Linked DNA regions of Homo sapiens: all the other regions are linked to region 6. The links are contacts of gene promoters, found by promoter capture Hi-C in blood cells and fetal thymus (Javierre and others, 2016). All regions are on one chromosome and are shown on one strand. The core of a region is centred on a gene start or on the middle of the fragment in contact, and the rest is flanking DNA. Distances in the headings are between cores, read along the strand shown.

Region 1 (3,320 bases), core at 359-2,858, 360 kb after region 6:
TAGACATTACTCCTCATGTGAAAATAAATTTTGCTTTTTGAACATCTAAAAGTTGGGAAAGCTGATCACAATTACTTTGGTTTTATATATGGAGGAATTATGACCAAGAGGGTTCTGTGTTTATCTATGTGTATATATGGGCAAACTAGCTTACCACCTGTTTTTGTACAGCCTGTAAGCTAAGAGTGGTTTTTATATTTTTAATGATTGAAAAAAATAAAAGCAATATTTCATGAGATGAAAATAATATGAAATTCAAATTTCAGTGCCCATAAGTTAAGTTTTATTGGGACACAATCATGCTCATTCATTACGTATTATCTGTGACTGCTTTCAAGCTACTTCAAAAGAAGTAAGTAGTTGTAACAGAATCTGTCTGGCCACTAAAGCTGAAAAAATGTATTATCCATCCCCAGTCTAGATAGCCCCTATGCAACAATGGAAATTATTTAGGTCATTCAAAACCAAATGAATGCTTCTGAGAGACAGATGACAGAAGCATGAGTTGAACTAAGCAGAATAAAACAACTTTACCACAATAATAATTGCAACAGCTACCATTTATTGAGCATTTGCTAATGTGCCAGATACTCTTCAGGGCACTTTTCACACATTAACTCATTTAATCCATACAACTCTATGAGCCACTAACATATCTCATTTTACAGGAATCAGCACAGAGAGGTTAAGCAACTTCTCCAAAGTCAGTCAGGGATGAAACAGGCCAGTTTGGCTGTCTTTCACACTTACCTCAGTGATTTTCTCACATGTACATACCTTACAAGTACTTTCTATTGAATATATTATATTTCTTGAGTCAGAGATAACAGTGTTTTCCTTTGGTTGACCCTAATTGCTTGTTCTCACTTCAGGCACTCCTGGTTTGTAATGTTTGTACATAAGAGCTTAGTCAGTGCAGGTCATCTAATTTCAAATAGAAATTATTTAAACCTGTTTTTAATGATGACTTTAGCAGATTGGATTATTGTATAACAGGCTCTCCTGTCTTAAAACACAAATTACTTGTTTTTTAAAAGCAGACTCTAGGCATATTTTCTGTTGTTTATATCTAATTTATGACCAATTCAATAATTTTTCCCTCTACATTTTTTTAACATGTTATGTTACCTCCCTGACCAAAATCCTCCAGTAATTTCTCATTGCCTTGAAATCAAGTCGTGCATGAACATTTTCCCTCAGAATCCCAATAAGAAGCTAATCTTAATTTAAACAGTATATTTTATAGAATGATATGAATTGAAATGCTTTGTCATGTGGTTGTCAATTTTGAGATTAGGGAAAGATTAAAATGTATTCCATTTCTGTCTTAGATATTAATTGGGATATTTGATGTCAACGAACAAAGTTGCATTTTATCTTTATTAAATTTCATTGAGTATTGTTAGGCTTCAGATTTTTCCCATCTGTAACATAGAGACCTACTTATAAAATGAATGGAATTATTTCCATTAGTTCAGAATTTGTGGTAATAAGGGCAGGTAATTGTATTCTGTCTGTAAGTAAAAGTAGAATTCACTGTGTAAAAATGATTGTAGAGGAAATATCTTATTACAATCATTCTTTTATTTTATAAACAGCTATTTAATGGTAGCAATTACAAGTAATCCTTAATAAGTTTTTAAAAGCAGGATGCCCCCATCAGACATTTTTATGGAATTATTGATAACATATTTGAATTCACATTTCTATTCACAAATTAAGAACAGTTATTACTGTTTTATGAAAAATATCTTTAAAAATTAAATCTTGTCACTCATTCAAACTTACTGCCTCCTAGTTCATTTCAACTAGTGGGCTTAACTTACTGAGTCCTTTGAAATTCTAGACTTAAGTTTAGAATGTCTTGGCTATTAAAGCAGACATTACATAGTCTGAAAAATAGTCTTTATAGCTGCTTTTGATGTTGACAGTGAAGATCATTGTAATTCATTTATTTACTTCAAAAGTTATATCAAATATTGGAGAGGAAATAAATTTATTTTGCTTTAAATTTATTTTATATATTATATACATGTATACAATATGTATGTAATTTGTATTACATGTTTACATTACTTGATCCCAAAATGTATTTCTTTTAGACACAGAAGAAACATATATGTTTGATGTAAGGTGTTACCTGCTTTCCCAGATAAGTAACTTATCTGAGGTCATGCAGTTTTTAGTGGCTGAATTTGAACTGGGAAACCTGGACCTGACTCCTGAACTAATGACTTTGACCAATGTGCTGTACTCTTCACAGACATAAACAGATTAATATAGTGAAGAATAATGGATGCAGTGATAGAAATATGTCCATCAGTTCAAAGTTCTTTGCTGTTCTTTATGTCCTTTATATGAATTTAAAAATATGAGAATGTGTGCAGCACTGATTGTTAGCGGAATCATAGTATGGAACTAGAAGGGCCTAGAACACTGTCAAATTTTGCTCTAAGTACTTTATATAAATTATTTCATTTAGTCATCAAATTGAGATTGGTGCTTTTATTGTTCCCTTCTGCAGCTGAGGAAACTGAGATTAAATGTCGTATTTCCCCAAGGGAGCCTAGGCTAAACCCAGCCGTGTTCTTTTAAGTACTGTGAATTTTGCCTCCCTGAAATGCTTTTCCCCCATCCCTTAAAAATAAGTGCTTTCGTATATACCAATAATGATTTTCCTAGAACAAACAACTTTTAGACTTGTCATTACAATTCTTATAGCCTGGCAGTGTTCTGACTTAGGTCTCAGTGGTTAGGAATCAATTTAGGGTCATCAAAAGGGTTCTGTGCTACCTTTTGCTATAGAACTAACAAAATATAATTAATAGGATTGGCATTTCAAAATTTATAGCTTATAAAATTATATATTCTCAGGATTTAAATACCTATAATCAGTTCATTTATAGGTGTTGAGTTGTTAAAAAAAAATGAGTATGTAGTATGTTACCAGGATTTTACCAGGTATGTAGTATTTACCAGAACTTGGTCTGTTTTCCTGTTTTTACCTTGAAATACCATTCATGCCTGTCTTTGACATGTTTCTTATTACTCCTCCCTAGAAGTATCTTGTTTGTCTTGACAGAACACTCTGGACTTTTGTGATATATTGTTACCATCATTATTTGGTATTCTTCTGTTTATGTATGTAAAACAAGGAGCAGCTGCTTTCTGCCAGCATTTTGGGTACTCATTTATATTCCCACATTGGTGACCTTAATTTGAAACACACTGCTACCATGTGGATAAGCAGAAGAATACACTGCCTAGGGGTGTAGATTGATCAGTCTGTTATCACTGGTTAAAGGCATAGCAAGAAAATT
Region 2 (3,281 bases), core at 407-2,906, 330 kb after region 6:
TGAACTTTGCCCATGCCTGTGTCCTGAATGGTATTGCCTAGGTTTTCTTCTAGGGTTTTTATGGTTTTAGGTTTTAAGTCTTTAATCCACCTTGAGTTAATTTTTGTATAAGGTGTAAGGAAGGGGTCCAGTTTCAGTTTTCTGCATATGGCTAGCCAGTTTTCCCAACACCATTTATTAAATAGGGAATCCTTTCCCCATTGCTTGTTTTTGTCAGGTTTGTCAAAGATCAGATGGTTGTAGATGTGTGGCATTACTTCTGAGGCCTCTTTTCTGTTCCGTTGGTCTATGTATCTGTTTTGGTACCAGTGCCATGCTGTTTCGGTTACTGTAGCCTTGTAGTATAGTTTGAAGTCAGGTAGCGTCATGCCTCCAGGTTTGTTCTTTTTGCTTAGGGTCATCTTGGCTATACGGGTTCTTTTTTGGTTCCATATGAAATTTAAAGTAGTTTTTTCTAATTCTGTGAAGAAAGTCAGTGGTAGCTTGATGGGGATAGCATTGAATCTATAAATTACTTTGGGTAGTATGGCCATTTTCATGATATTGATTCTTCCTATCCATGAGCATGGAATGTTTTTCCATCTGTTTGTGTTCTCTCTTATTTCCTTGAGCAGTGGTTTGTAGTTCTCCTTGAAGAAGTCCTTCATATCTTCTGTAAGTTGTATTCCTAGGTATTTTATTCTTCTTGTTGCAATTGTGAATGGGAGTTCACTCATGATTTGGCTCTCTGTTTGTCTATTATTGGTGTATAGGAATGCTTGTGATTTTTGCACATTGATTTTGTATCCTGAGACTTTGCTGAAGTTGCTTATCAGCTTGAGATTTTGGGCTGAGATGATGGGGTTTTCTAAATATACAATAATGTCATCTGCAAACAGAGACAATTTGATTTTTTAAAAAGAAATAAACCTGTGTCATGTGTCTATCTATATGTTTTATAATTAAATAAATTTAAAGTCTTAATGTTGTTGTCTGCAATTGTATCAACTGGAATTCTAATCCTTTGGATGGTAAAAATGCATGAGACATAGGTGTTGTTCTTTATATACATGATATTTGGATTTTATATAATAATAACTCCTTTAGTTGACAATTGTTCCCCAATTTTTTTTCTTGCTCTGTTTTACTATCCACTGAGTTTTAATAGTGTCCGTTATCATGAAATATTTCCTCTCTGCTGACATTCTTTTAAATCCCCTGTCTTTCTGTTCTGATTTTCATCTAAAGATGTATTTCAATGTATTTTTATAAATCTTGATGGATATATAAACCTATAGACCTGTGTGAATGTATACACTCCTGTGAACTAGCTGTACTCCTCTGAGACTATAAACACATTGCTGGTCTGTTATTTAGTCCAGATATATAAAGATTGAACAGCTTTTTATCCCAAAATCATGGTGGGGGAATGTGTAATAAGGTGTTGAAATGCTGATGTCCATTTAAAATGTTATAAATGTTTTAAACAAGCTATTTGAAGTATGCATACACAATTTTTGTTTGATGAGGAAAAGTGAGTTAGGTGTGGTTTAGGTAAAGCATATCCTCTCAGATTAATTTTTCCATCACTGTGACTGTGCCCACAACAGGGGTTCAGATAGTGCACTGAGCAAACCATGTTAGCAATTAATTTCCTATCCTTTTGTAACATGTTAGAAAATGTGTCAGAAAGGTTTCAGTGAACTTTGATCAAATTAGTTTATGCCTGTGATTTGACTAATACTTTTCTAGAATCCTTGTGAATTTAGTCTTGCTTTCATACTTAGCAACTAATTAATCAGAACATTTTTTTTGCCTTATCAAATTTCTTTGCTAGAGAAATCTAATTGATCTGTTACTGATTGTTGTTTGAGACAAAATCCAAAGGCCATCTCTTAGTGTAATTACTAATATATTAAGTGCATCAACACATACTTATATTGTAAAAATTGACAGTCTGAATTTTCTTATTTTTAATATCTTAGTATTCTTAATTTTCTTAATATCTGACTTACTACAACTAGAGTAATATAAAACAGCTGTAAAAATTGACTGTATTTTAAAAATTGATAGCCTAAATTTTCTTATCTTTAATATCTTAGTATTCCTAATATTCTTATCTTAATATCTGGCCTACTAAAACTAGAGTAATACAAAACAGCTGTATGTATTCATAAGTGATAGGAGGCCAAAGAAACAAAAATTTTTTCTCAGCATAAGCTCTGCCAGTTAATGCTGAATATGTAACTATTTTTCATTTCAAAAGTATGAGTAAAATTGATATTTTTTCATAATTGCATAAATTAACAATGCACTTATCTTTTATCTACCGTGTGGTTGGATTTTGAACGTGTCTTGCGATGTTGCTACTTCTTTAGCATTCTTTATATAGCACAAAGTGGGAAATGCTTCTTTTTATAAGCAAAAACATGAACAAAACATTTGTTAGAAAACGTGTTAAGTCAGTTATTTAGCCATGAGATCATCATATGCAACCATTATCTATTTATAATTCTCCTTTTGGAAAGTAAATAGAATTTTAACAAATGCTGTCATTTAATGTCAAGCAAAATTTCAAAAATTTTTTAAAAGCCTGATTTTTAAGTAATGGAGCTATACTAAAATGCTTTAGTGTTTATTGTATGTGGATTTTATGCAGTTGGGTCAGGTTATCAATATAATTGACTAGGGCTTAAGATGAAAAACTGAGATTATATTCTACTTTTTACTATATACTGTTTTATCATTCCCAACTAAGTTTGGGGCTACTTAAACCTTGAAAAATTTACTGATGTGGTATTTAGAATCTGTTATTTGGGTATCATAGGAAGAATGTAGTGAGTTGGTGGTAATTGATTTATCCTCCATCATACTGAACCTCCCACTCGTCTTCCACTTTGTCCTCCCTTGGGCAATAATCACAGGGTCGAACTGCCAATCTGTAGACTTAATTTTTTCCAGCAGTACCATCTGGCTCCTTGGCACCATAAGTTATATTGGTTCTTTGTGGCTGTTACTGAGTTTGTCATATTGTTAGACAGCTGATGGGATGTTTTTTGCTATTCGACCCTTTTAAAACTAATTATTGATTTTTATTTAGAGAATCTTCTTTGGCCATTTATGATAGCATGGCAGGATTTTATTGTGAAAAAAGTAGAATGCACCTAAACAAATCCTATATTATGTGTCAACCTTGAGATTCTATTCTCTGTATTGTATTCTGTCTAGTTCTTTAGTAGCTCTCCCTTTCAAGAGAGATTAAAATTAATTGTACAGGTTTTCTGTTTCATTCAAACCTGTAT
Region 3 (3,262 bases), core at 406-2,905, 470 kb after region 6:
TAGAAATTGGAATTAACTATAGCATGACTCAGGGATATAAACTAAAATTTCTTATGAGAATTCTTACTGTCAGCTTCCTTGTTTTTGTCTCTCTTGCTTTAAAAATGGAGTATACAATGCAAGGAGGAAAAACAGTAATTCTTTGAATTAGAGGAACTCAAAGTCACACCTGCAAAGTAAATTGCAAAGTAATGAGATTGATCTCCGTACACCACTAGAGAACTTAGTGTCTTCAATCAGGTTCCTGAATGGTGGTGCTCAAACATCATGGAGGTCCTTAGAGATTGTGTCAGTTTCCTCATTTAACAGGTTAGGAATCTAAGATTCAAGTAGTTAATGTATAGATAGTAATAGTAAAACGCCGAGGTTGTACAGTTCCTGTTGTGCATTTATAAAGATAACCTTTTGAAACAATGAATGTATGAGAAATGAGAGGATTCTTACAAAGTTTCTAATCGGAGTTAATAAAAAAGAGACTAAAGAGGTAGCCTTGATGAAAGTATTTATACACTTTAAATAGGTATCTAGTTTTCATAGTATTACAGTGTTTATGAATAAAGATATCACAATGAAGAATACTTGGAAAACAACAGTCAAGTCCATTGGTTCTTAAACTTGCTGTATTTTATGTTTTGTGAATAAAATTACTTTCATTTTCACAAAAGGCTGGTGTGTTTTGAAGCACAGATATATGTTTGGAAAAGGACACAAATTTTTTTTAACATTGCAAACACCTGTTGCTTTCAAACACATCGGTAACTAATTTCTGAAAGGGTTAGTACATTATTAAATCTTTTAATGTTTCAGGTTTCTGTTAAGTCAGCATTCTTTTACCATATCATTCGCAGAAAGCGGATTAACATACTCGATAAATGACAGTCATGGTGCTGAAAAAGATTTAAGTAAATGTTGGGGCCTTATTTAAGTGTAAAATAATATTCCAGCAGAGAAAGAAGATTTAGTTAATGAGTAAATATTACTATTATGTTGGATAAAGTCTCTGTTTCACTTTATCATAACTAGTCCTTTTTCCTGCCTTCTTACCCAGTCACTCTTACTGCTCAATAAATATTAATTGGGGACTAAAATTTCAACTACAAAATAAAACAAATAAAATGACTATAATGGTATGAAAATTGAAAACATGGGAGTTAGATCACAAGCATTCACTACCGCCTTACTATTATTTTCTCGGATTACTGGGCAAGTTTGGCTTTTTTTTGCTTCTTTGATTGCCACACTACATTTTGCCTTGAAGCCATCCATTTTGCAGATATTGAATTTCTTTTGAGTACTATTTTTATACAATAAGCATCACTACACCTCTGGATCTTGATAGCATTACTGCAGGAGGAGAAAGCAGCTTTGTGTTAGTAATTACCTAACATTGTCAGAAGCTGACTGCAGGCCTCTTTCTAGTGATAACAGAATAACCGCATAATGTAGCTTTATAGCACATGATTAATAGAAAATAATTACACGTCCTACAAAGGGATGCAATATTTCTTATAAATTGACTAGAATGGTTTCCTGTAGATTAAAGGACTCTTCATTATTTTATCAGTCCTCCTGAAGTACAGTCACTTGCCTATGTTAGCATTTCAGCTGATGTTAAGAGCTGAATAGGTGAAGGATACCAGATGGCAGACCTCCTTGTACCTGAAACCTTGTGTTCCATAAAGATTACATGATGCTTCCTAACATTTCAAAGATTTAGACAACAGCCTGGTATGGATTGTCTATTTTTTGTTTGCTAAGAAGATAAAGTTTGAGAGTTTTCCTTTTTGTTTTTTAAATGATCCACTTGTGACTTTATAGAACAATACTATAATTAGTTTGTGGACTGCAAAACAACATTGTATCAGTTGCATTATTTTCCACTGTAAGTAATATATCATTCATAATCACATTTGTTTGGGGGTGGAAAAGAGGAAAGGCATAGACAGGCAGATTTTCTTTTTCAGAAGGAAACCTTGTACAATATTGAATGTTCAGGCCAAAGTTTAGAATACTGTACTCCAAGAAGCATTTTCATTCCAATTTATAGGCTGCAAATGGTTTAATTGGGATTCATGTTGCTCAGGAGGCTCATACAGAGAATAGTAATGATAAAAGTAAAAAGCTCCTGTATTTGCAGTCTTGTCAACACTCTAATGGCTGCAGTGTAAATCCATAAATTTGCCTCCTGTATTTTTACCTCACTATATTTGATCATAATGCATTAATTTCAAACAGGAATATAATTTGCAATTCTTTACAAATATAAGGTAATATTCTGGTTTTTAGTTTTACCTTTTCTGATTTAAATCTGATATTTTAGAGTATTTTTATCAAGTGTATGTTTCCTATGTTTTTCAATTATTTTAAATTAAGTGAAGCATTTAAGATTATTTTAGTCTAAACCTTTTTTCTCCCTAGAGTATAACTTTTAAGGGATTTGTTTATAGTTGATTAAGCTCCTCCCTGCTGTTTACCACTATGCTTTCTAGTTAATAAATCTTCCTGTTCTACCATAGCACAGAATTCTCTCAACTGTGAAGTCTGCCCTTGTTGATGTGATTTCTTGGGAACTAATTTCTTAAATTTGGGTGTGAGTAACTTTTTGAAAATGATAACATGCCTTTAGTTGATAGCATAGACTATGACCAAAGTAGAATATTATAAAGTAATAACTTTCTGTCTTGTAATTTGAATCTAAGCATTGACCCCCAGATTGAGGGCCATTCTCTGGAAGCAAGTTTATGCCAATAATATGTCTTCTCACTGAATGTTTTCTATGTCTGTCACTGGGGAGCAGGGGGCTAGTTCCTTTTCTCATTCCAAATAATCAGTTTCAAAAATCTTATATTGGCATTGAATAAGAGCTTTAACACTCAGACCTACCCTGTTAATTATCCACTTTGAAATCTTACAGTAGTCTGTGGAACGTTAAGTACGTGTGTTTTTTTAAGCATTAGGCTTTAATTGTATTCATTGCCTTAAAAATAGAAAAGGGTAGTTTTATTAGGTACCTATTAAGATATAATCGTTGCTAATCATGACTTTCAGTAAGTTAGTATTTTCTTCTGATAAATATGTCCTACATAGATTATAGCCATCATTGGGTTCTGGGCATCAGAGTATCCTCGTTCCTTATACAGCTTCGTCCACTAAGTTCACACTATCAATGAACTTTAAAAGTTTAAAACTTAAAATCTTGAGTTTACTGCCTCACAAGCCAGAGCTGTGCCCTCAATAGAATAACAATAGCAGGAGTGGTCTT
Region 4 (3,110 bases), core at 330-2,829, 450 kb after region 6:
GTTTTTTTCCCTGCCTAAGATTCAAAAACATACACCATATTTGATTTTGTTATCTTTTATATGGAAGCTATTTGTATTGTTAGCCAAGATAAAATGAGTTGTTTAAATATTGTTAAGAAAAATTGATATATTAAATGCATAAAGCTTTGGTTTAAAAATATCGCTACCAGGTTTAAAATGGAAAAAGGAAGTGTCCTTAATGAGCATCTCATCCTCTAAAATCTGCTTATTAAATGGCATCTTACATGGATTTCAATTTGGATATTTTATAGTAAACATTAATTCTTAAGTAAATACTTTTAATATCATTATTCTGATAATTTAAGAGTGCATATTTCTAAGAACAAAGCTCTCTGACACCAATATACAATCCAGAGCACATGTTACTGGCACTTAAGTTTTAATAAAATAAAAAATTCATAGTAACAAATACTTCTAAATTCATTGTTAACTTTGTCAAAGAGCAGAGTTTTTTCATTAAGTCTTGTAATGAATTTTTATATGTTCATGCTGATTTGGGTGGTGAAATCTAAATCCCACAGTCTCTTTTTTTTTTTTTTTTTTTTTGAGATGGAGCTTCACTCTTGTCGCCCAGACTGGAGTGCAGTGGCGCGATCTCAGCTCATTGCAACCTCCGCCTCCCAGGTTCAAGCGATTCTCCTTCCTCAGTCTCCTGAGTAGCTGAGATTACAAGCGCCTGCCACCATGCCATGCTAATTTTTGTATTTTTAGTAGAGACGTGGTTTTGCCATGTTGGCCAGGCTTGTCTCGAACTCCTGATCTCAGGTGATCCACCCGCCTGGGCCTCTCAAAGTGCTGGGATTACAGGCGTGACCGACCATGCCCAGCCCCCACAGTCTCTTCTTAAAAGCCACTAATAATACTTATTGTATTGATGCGGTTATAGCTTTTGACTGAGGACGAGTGCCTTTATCCATTTTTTAATTTATTTCTTACTATTGAATTTGTGACTAAATTAAAAGGGGAGTGGGTGCTATGGAAAGAAAGTGTGAAAAGTAAGGAAAGCTTTCTCCTTCACCTTTTACCAAATTATCTGTCAATAAAATGAGTAGGTTGGAATAATGACTGTAAACGTTCCTTCTACCTTTAAAAATTTATATGGAAACACCCTATTAACCCATTTATTAAAGCTAGCCTTTAAGGTTTGGCATAAGTGAGATAACTATTGTTAAAAAGAAAAGAGACAGGATACTTTTTAAAAGAGTGGTATACTTTTATTAGGTCTTCTATATATTTGACTGAACCATATTAAATTGTCAGTGTTATGTTTAACAATATGAATAAAATGCCAGATATTTTCAGGTGTCCCTTATATTGGAGTTGTCATTATTTTGTTTGAATTGAGTTACAGAAATTCAGAACAGTTCTATTTGTCGTGTAAGTACAGCTACCCTCTCAAGCTTGGTTGAAATGCTGATTTTGATTCATCCCCATTTAACATTTTCAGGAGACTCCTAAATTTCCACCTGTAGTCCTGACTGCTCTACCATACTTTGCAGTTGCCCAGACATGTTCTCTGGGTTGCCTCACCAATACATTAAATTCCTCCTGTTGAAAACACAACTCTTTGTGTTCCCCAGTAAGATAGATTATTTTGGCTATCCTCCTTTTAGTAATAATATGTCCATTTCTCAGTTAACTAAGCTCAAAACCTTAGCCATCCTTTGTTGCTCTTTTCCCCCCCCTCATTCCTCCACATTCAGGCACAAAGCTTATCCATTCTAGTTCCTTTACCTCTTATAACCATCTCCTTTCCATTTCCTTTGCCCCTTCAGTTCAGGACTTCCTTCCCCTTTATCCACAGTAGTCTCTCTCCCGCCCCTTTTTTAGGCTGTCTGAGACAATGGGATCAGATGTCCATTCCTGAAGCATAGCTTCAGTCCTGCCCTTTCTCTGCTCAAAAAACCTTCGAAGGCTCTTATTGCCCACCAAATAAAAGCCTGCAGTCCATAACAAGATGTTCATGGCCCCTCAACAGCTGGTCCAAACTATGAGCGTAACTCCTACCCAGCTCTTCCCCTATGTGTACCAGATTCTTTAGTCAAAATGAATATGAACATGCCTTTTTCTTTTAAAGATCATACCTATCCCTCCGGAAATATCCTTCTTATCCTCTCTCCTTATTTAAACTCTCTCCATCCCTTGGAGCCTCCGTGGTACTCCCTAGTTGGGGGGTTTCTCTGCTGCACTTCTTCAGTGCTTTGTGCATCACTTGTCAGGTTTAGGCCCCTTCAGCCTGTTTTCCTTTAGAGCTTGTCTTCTGTCCCATCTGTGCTGTCAGCTTCCTGTGAGCAGAGGCTTCCTGTTACTTTTACCTCCTTGGTAGATCTCTTCTGTCTCACAGTTAGTTAATATCCAATGAAGATTGATTGACTGATTGATTGAATAGTTACAATGACTACATTTATATATTTTGCATATTTTTCTTTAAAGTTTTAGGAGTTTTCTTGAAATTATGATTCTCTTTGAATCCAGTTTTTCTTTGGCATGCCATTTGTTTATATGTCCTGCCTTAAGTATTTCTAGGTTTGTATGCAAATCCTTAGGTGAGGAAAAATCATGTAATAAATATTTTTCTTGGTGTAAATGAATTAGTTTATTAAGTCTATTTAAAGCTCTTCTCATTTAATTTTATCTTATTTCTTTGCATAATTTGGGGAAGGAATGGTATAGGTGAGTGTGGAACAAATGTAAATGGAGCACTGATTATATGTAGGATAAAGAACATTGACTTTATAATCACAAACTTAAGTTCGAATGACACACTTTGGAAGTTACTTCACCTTTTTGAGTCTCTAAAGATAAACTTGTCTGTAGAATGAGGATTAAAAATTATTTGTCTATGAGATTTTAACATCCAGCATTGTATATGACACATAATAGGTCCTTGGTATAATTTTGGGGGAATTACCTCAAAGGATGAAGATCATTATAGTATCTTCCTGTGAAGATTGAGAAAACGTATGAAATTATGTGATACTCAAAAAAATGATTTATAGGTTAACTGCATTTTTAATCACACATTTCTCCTTGCTATATGATGTTTTAGGGACCATGATTTTATATATGATACTCCTGCCACACAGTAC
Region 5 (3,408 bases), core at 358-2,857, 410 kb after region 6:
AGCATCATATTTCTCTTTTAATATTGTTTTGAATATGTTAAAGTGACAGTACTTATATTTGTATAATTAAAAGTTCTGTTGTTTTGTAACAACAACTTAATAGAAAGCCATAAAAGCTTACCTTTTTTCTTCTGATTCATTTGACAGAAACAAATTCTGTCATTTTATAATTGTAATTATATAATTTTATAATTATATCAAGATGATATATATTAAATGTGTAAGTGAATTCTGATATTTAAAAAATTTAAATTGCAATTCTGTTTCCATCTGGTATGTGAAGGATATCTTTATTCCTTAAGAAATAGGAACCATTAATTCTACTTTTATCAGAAATTATTACAATTTTATAGACTTTTGGGTCTTTGATATGAAAGTATTAACTTTAAAACTTATCACAATAAACTTTTTTTTTTTTTTGAGACGGGGTCTCGCTCTGTTGCCCAGGCCAGAGTGCAGTGGCATGATCTCAGCACACTGCAACCTCCGCCTCCCGGGTTCAAGCGATTCTTCTGCCTCAGCCTCCTGAGTAGCTGGGATTACAAACATTAAATTAAAGCTATGCCTTTATTTTCTGCCTTTATGGCTAAGAGACTCTCTAACAGTATATAGAAGTTAAAATGTACATCTGATGTTTAGTAGGATTTCATCAACATGCAGAAATAGTCAGGTACAAACCAAGTTTTACTAAGGGTCTGATGACCACGAATGTTGTTGGTTTGATATCTAGTCTCACTTCTACACAAAACCCCAGAGATATATTTCAAGTGGCTGATTTAGCATTGGCATCTGCAAGCTGTATAAACCAAAGGAGAATGTTCATATATCTTTAACTGAGGAGCTGGAACATCTTGCTAGTCAGTTTGATAAAATTTAGTGGCAAGGTCTAGTATTGATGGGCATATTTTTCTTTTCCCTACTAATGAGTACTAATACTTGTGGAAATAACGTAAGTTATTCACTGAAGGGAAAAGGCCTTCTTAAATATAAGTAGTAGATATTGCTGAACACATTTCATATTTTTGTTTGCTAGCCATTTGTGCCAAGTTAGTGTTCTTGGTATAAGCATCGGAAACCAACTTTGTTTATGCAGAAAGGGAAATTATTAGGAAAATATCAGCTCTCAGAATTGCTAAGAATGCTACACACAGGCTCAGCAAGCAAGCAAGAACTAAGGTAGGTAAGGGGGCTGGATCTTGAGCATAATCCATGAAAAATCTTATTGGGACACACTGCTGGCTTGGGCCTTGCCAAGCCAGGACATGTGATGTTGCCACTGTGCACTGCCATCAATCAGTGAGTGCCATTGCCACCAGAATGGATTCTGAACCCTCTCTTGATCCTTTTGTTACTTACTGGAGATTTAGGTTCCAGTCTGGAGCATCCACTTTGATTAAGTTGGAACAGGGAAAATCCATCTCTCTCCAGCTTCTGTGATGGAAAACTAAGCCCTATCCCTGACAATCTTGGAATTAAAATAGGAAAGATGCATGGATGCTGGGGAGCCCCAAATAATAAATGTCCATAACTTGTAGGGATGCTAAAGGATTTGGAATTATTTGGTTGCAATATTTATGCTGTATTTAAAATGGTATGAGAGTGGTTGGTGTTTTAAGCATATTTTTCTGAGAGCCAATGAAGAAGAGAAAAAACAAGTATATTTGCCAGAAAAATAGAAGGTCTGTTTAGATTTTGGTAGGTGGCATTGGAGTGTAGGGGGTAACGTCGGGGCAGTTGGTGAAGGTAAGGGCAAAATAAAAAATGGTGCCCAGTTTTCTGGTTTGGGAGCTTGAATTAATGGAGGTGCCATTTATTGAGATGGGGGATACAACAAGAAATATCACAGTTGTTGGCATCACAAGTGTTGGGAGTGGGGATAAGATGATCTCCATTGTGGGCACTTTCTATTCAATGAGCCTATAGGACATTTGAGAAATGAAACATATTTAGTGAGCAGATGAAGATTTGGATAAACAGTTTTGAAAATGAACTAAAAGTAGAGAATCATGAGTCACAAGTATATTGATAGGAATTTAATTCTTGGAATTAGATGAGATTGCCCAGGGAGAGTGTAATGTAAGAAGAGAGCAAGACTTAGAACAACGCATCATAGCTTTTTAAGAGATAGGCAGAGGTAGAGGAACCCATAAAGAAAGCTGAGAAAGTTTGACCTAAGTTGTAGGACGAAATGCAAAATAACATTTATCTTCTCTACCGTGATTTTGTATATTTCACATTGTATTGAGGACAGTGGTTGTAGTGTGTATCAAAATCACCTGGGGTGCTTGCTAAAAATTTGGTTTCCTAGACTCACCCACAGAGATTCCTATATAGCAAGTGCAGAGTGGTAGCCAATTCTGTGTTAACAGGCGTCCAAGTTGATTCTAACATAGGTGATTCTTAAAATATACTTTGAGAAACACCTTTTTAGAAAACAGTGTGAAATGGCTGAAAAAGCAAGGCTTTAGAACCAGACTTTCCTAGGGTCCTGGCTTTTACTGTTTACTATTTGTGTGACCGTGAGCAAATTGGTTAAAGTTTGTTTTCCCATCAGTGCTGGGAATATAATATGTCTCCTCTATTGCTTAGAATTATTACCAGGTGTATATGAGATATGTTCTATTAAGTTCTTGACATGTAGAAGCTCAGTAAATGTGAGTTGTCTTTTTGACAGCTTAAAAAACCCCCAGAACACAGCTGTAAACCTAAAAGCCAGTGAAAAAGTAGAAGGAAATTGCTCTTATTAGCCTTATGCATTTTGTTTTGTAGGAAATCAGAGCCAACTGCTTTTTACCTTGAACCTGCTGAATTAGGATTGTGTAAAATTAAGTTACTGATATAATAGATTTCATTATCTAGTTTTTCCTGGCAGCCTTCAGTTCTGTAGACATTACATTCAAACAGCATGATAGAGGTTAGGTTAAAGTGTGAAACAGAAGCTGAGAGAAATGTAATAGAGGAACAAACACCTCAAAAATTCTGAAGGCATCAATGTGTTATAAAAACTAATACTCAAAATGATACTATGTTAAGAAAAAAATGTTATGTTTAAAAGATTTGTTTGAGAAGTTAGGCAAGTATATATTTTAGAAAGCTTTCCATCACAATGATTAACATTTTTAAAAGTTTTGGCACTTAAAGGAATAAGCTTTTGCTATTTGTGAAGTTCACCTAGATAAAATATTAGTCTTTCACAGTGCTGGGTAAATGGACTTTATAGCTTTATTTCCTATTTGATTGGCATTTTACTATTTTTGATAATTTTGTTAACAGGTATCCTTGAAACTATCCCAAAAAGCAATTGTGGAACTAATCTATATGTAAATTCTTATGACTTACCACATAATGGTGAAGTTTCTCTCTCCAGAAGAGAAACTAATGTGAAAGGAGGAGAACAGTGTTGTCTTA
Region 6 (3,171 bases), core at 5-2,504:
TCCGATAGCGCCCGCGTCGCCGCCACAGCAGCGTTCAGGACCCAACGAGGGGCCCAGGGCCATGGGAGCCGCCAGAGTCCTGGCTTCCAGACGTGCCAGGGGCGCCTGCAACGCCGGGCCTCCAGCGGGGAGACTCCACTTGCCTCTCAGCTATATTTGTGATTTACTTGAGTCTTTCGGAGCCGTGGAAAATAACTACAGAGATACTAGGCACTGCCAAGGAATGCTTCCATTATCGCCCTCATTTTACTCCTGGAGGTCTAAGCAAGACCCCAGTAACCCGCCCCACGGATCCCCAGACCCCAGGCAGCCTCTGTGGCTGCAGGGAGCCTGGGCCCACTCGCTGGGTTCAAGGAGAACCCTCCGACTTGGGGCCCGGCTGGCTCGAGGAACCGGACCCTGTGATGAAGATTTTCCAGGCTGGATACGTAAGCAAATCAAATCGCAAACTAATGACACGAAAACCATATTCACACGAAAGAAAAATCGACTACGGTTATAAAAGTGTATGGAATTTGACCTCGCCTTGGAGAAACACTACACAAAAGCTATCTTTAATAGACGCCTGTCATTTAAGAGCGGCAGGGACACTGTCCCTCATGCGCTCGCAAAAACAGAGCCGTAATTGTAGCTGCTGCTGCTGCGGGCAGGATTTATTTCTCCAATTGGCTAAATGGCTTTCCCCCTTCCCCGAAGGTGATATCTGTATTTTCAAAATTCAGAGCTGCTGGCAGGACGGTCAGTACCGACCCCAACCTCGACACAAAAATAAGAGGGGCTGCAAAACGGGGGAAATAAAGTTGTTGTAAATAAAATGCAAGTCACCACCTCCCCCCAATCCTCTGCATCCTCGCCGGGCGCGCGATCGGCAGCTGACGGCCTAACAATTGGTACATCCTAATGGAACTGCGAGGGAAATGCAATAATTTTGCCATAATGGGCTGTAACCTCAATTCGACCCCGGCCCTTGCAGCCCCCGGTCGGAAGCTGGGCGATGAGCCCTGCCTCCAGCGGGTGGCGCTCGAGTCCGGCTGAACGGCGGCAACTGGCGGCGGGCACGCGCCCGGGGCGCGCGCGCCACCCCCCTCGCCTCCACCCAACTCCCCTATTAGTGCACGAGTTTACCTCTAGAGGTCATCAGGCAGGATTTACGACTGGACAACAAAAGCACGTGATTCGAAGTCGTACCCCATATTTGGGTGCCTACGTAGGAGGGAACCAAGTACATGTCCCAGTCATTTCCATAATTCATCATAAATTGTGCAAGGGTGCTATAGACGCACAAACGACCGCGAGCCACAAATCAAGCACACATATCAAAAAACAAATGAGCTCTTATTTTGTAAACTCATTTTGCGGTCGCTATCCAAATGGCCCGGACTACCAGTTGCATAATTATGGAGATCATAGTTCCGTGAGCGAGCAATTCAGGGACTCGGCGAGCATGCACTCCGGCAGGTACGGCTACGGCTACAATGGCATGGATCTCAGCGTCGGCCGCTCGGGCTCCGGCCACTTTGGCTCCGGAGAGCGCGCCCGCAGCTACGCTGCCAGCGCCAGCGCGGCGCCCGCCGAGCCCAGGTACAGCCAGCCGGCCACGTCCACGCACTCTCCTCAGCCCGATCCGCTGCCCTGCTCCGCCGTGGCCCCCTCGCCCGGCAGCGACAGCCACCACGGCGGGAAAAACTCCCTAAGCAACTCCAGCGGCGCCTCGGCCGACGCCGGCAGCACCCACATCAGCAGCAGAGAGGGGGTTGGCACGGCGTCCGGAGCCGAGGAGGACGCCCCTGCCAGCAGCGAGCAGGCGAGTGCGCAGAGCGAGCCGAGCCCGGCGCCGCCCGCCCAACCCCAGATCTACCCCTGGATGCGCAAGCTGCACATAAGTCATGGTAAAGCCAGCCTTTTTCTAAATCCACGCGACCGCGGGGACGCGGCTCTCGGTCCCCCCTCTCTTCTCTGCCGCCCTCTCCCAGTCTCTCTTGGTCTCATTTCTCCCAGCCCTGCGGAGCTCTCCTTGCCGTTCTCCCTCCCCTGCCTTCCTCCTTCCTCCTCTTCTTTGCGAGCACCCTGCGCTCACAAATAGTGGGGGAAATGGGCGTTCTCTGGGACAGTTTAGACGTTGGAAGGGGGAGGAAGCAAAAAACCCCTCTGGAACCCCACGCCTTGGGACGCGCTCCCGGGTCAGGCCAGCCGAGCAAGGCGCAGAGAGGTAGAGGATGGCTGTAGCAGCCGTGAATCGGGCTTGTCACGGCGGATAATTTATGAGGAGGGCTACGCTGGGGAAACAGCGTTACTAATTACAGCCCCCGAAAAGGGGCTTGGGGGAAAGAATCGAGGCGAGAGCCTGCAGGATTCTGAATTTTGGGGGCAGGAGGGAGAGAGAAGGAAAGGGAAGAAAAAGAAAACAGGCTCCCCAACCCTGCAGGCTGGAAACGGGAGGCGGCTCTCGGGGCTGGAACTTTGAGGGAGGGTGACCCGAAGGCCACTTGGGCGCTCAGGAAAGGGCCTTGCTTCCTGGGTTTCTGTGCGGTGGGCAGCCTGGGAGGGCTGTGCCTCCCGATCGGGGCGCCCGGGGCAGGGCGGAGGGGGCAGGAGAGGGGCCAGGGAAAGCCGGAGTCCGCCGGGACACGGCCCCAGCCTCAGATGGGCAGATTGTTCCCAGGGTCCAAATCGTATTGTTTTCTTTCTAGAAAGGAAGAGAGAAGGAAATTCGGGAGGGGTGTGCGGGCTGGTAGGCAGAACTTGTTGAGCTTTTCGCCTGGGTTCCCTGCTCATGACCCAAGCTTGTCCCCCTGGCGGACTTTGGAAGACAGGAGTTGGTGGCTAAACCGCTGACTTTTCTATTGCAGACAACATAGGCGGCCCGGAAGGCAAAAGGGCCCGGACGGCCTACACGCGCTACCAGACCCTGGAGCTGGAGAAGGAGTTCCACTTCAACCGTTACCTGACCCGCAGAAGGAGGATTGAAATAGCACATGCTCTTTGCCTCTCCGAGAGACAAATTAAAATCTGGTTCCAAAACCGGAGAATGAAGTGGAAAAAAGATAATAAGCTGAAAAGCATGAGCATGGCCGCGGCAGGAGGGGCCTTCCGTCCCTGAGTATCTGAGCGTTTAAAGTACTGAGCAGTATTAGCGGATCCCGCGTAGTGTCAGTACTAAGGTGACTTTCT

The links. Contacts are between HindIII fragments. The CHiCAGO score rates a contact against its expected background, and 5 or more counts as called.
Region 1: a contact is called between a fragment that was not itself captured here and the fragment with the promoter of HOXA5 in region 6, in 1 of 17 cell types (neutrophils). The highest score is 5.8, in neutrophils.
Region 2: a contact is called between a fragment that was not itself captured here and the fragment with the promoter of HOXA5 in region 6, in 1 of 17 cell types (neutrophils). The highest score is 7.6, in neutrophils.
Region 3: a fragment that was not itself captured here is called in contact with the fragment with the promoter of HOXA5 in region 6 in 7 of 17 cell types (megakaryocytes, endothelial precursors, erythroblasts and 4 more); the score reaches 9.5 in megakaryocytes.
Region 4: a contact is called between a fragment that was not itself captured here and the fragment with the promoter of HOXA5 in region 6, in 10 of 17 cell types (endothelial precursors, total CD8 T cells, megakaryocytes and 7 more). The highest score is 12.9, in endothelial precursors.
Region 5: a fragment that was not itself captured here is called in contact with the fragment with the promoter of HOXA5 in region 6 in 1 of 17 cell types (neutrophils); the score reaches 6.0 in neutrophils.

The regions. Positions count from the first base shown.
Region 1 is chr7:26,777,506-26,780,825 of GRCh38, reverse strand. The region is part of intron 4 of SKAP2 (src kinase associated phosphoprotein 2); the gene reads left to right. Among named protein-coding and RNA genes, the nearest start is that of SKAP2, 85 kb to the left of the region's middle. The HindIII fragment of the contact is 3,889 bases long and covers 1-3,320 here.
Region 2 is chr7:26,815,251-26,818,531 of GRCh38, reverse strand. All of the region lies in intron 4 of SKAP2 (src kinase associated phosphoprotein 2), which reads left to right. All of the region lies in intron 1 of LOC124901606 (a long non-coding RNA gene), which reads right to left. Among named protein-coding and RNA genes, the nearest start is that of SKAP2, 48 kb to the left of the region's middle. The HindIII fragment of the contact is 6,899 bases long and covers 1-3,281 here.
Region 3 is chr7:26,671,616-26,674,877 of GRCh38, reverse strand. All of the region lies in intron 11 of SKAP2 (src kinase associated phosphoprotein 2), which reads left to right. Among named protein-coding and RNA genes, the nearest start is that of LINC02860, 35 kb to the right of the region's middle. The HindIII fragment of the contact is 5,282 bases long and covers 1-3,262 here.
Region 4 is chr7:26,690,790-26,693,899 of GRCh38, reverse strand. All of the region lies in intron 9 of SKAP2 (src kinase associated phosphoprotein 2), which reads left to right. Among named protein-coding and RNA genes, the nearest start is that of LINC02860, 54 kb to the right of the region's middle. The HindIII fragment of the contact is 311 bases long and covers 1,424-1,734 here.
Region 5 is chr7:26,730,143-26,733,550 of GRCh38, reverse strand. The region is part of intron 6 of SKAP2 (src kinase associated phosphoprotein 2); the gene reads left to right. Among named protein-coding and RNA genes, the nearest start is that of LINC02860, 94 kb to the right of the region's middle. The HindIII fragment of the contact is 2,978 bases long and covers 119-3,096 here.
Region 6 is chr7:27,141,764-27,144,934 of GRCh38, reverse strand. It overlaps HOXA5 (homeobox A5), which reads left to right and starts at 1,254. Exons shown (of 2, transcript NM_019102.4): 1 at 1,254-1,889; 2 at 2,850-3,171. The coding sequence starts at 1,328. The coding sequence ends at 3,100. All of the region lies in intron 1 of HOXA3 (homeobox A3), which reads left to right. All of the region lies in intron 1 of HOXA-AS3 (HOXA cluster antisense RNA 3), which reads right to left. The HindIII fragment of the contact is 13,335 bases long and covers 1-2,785 here.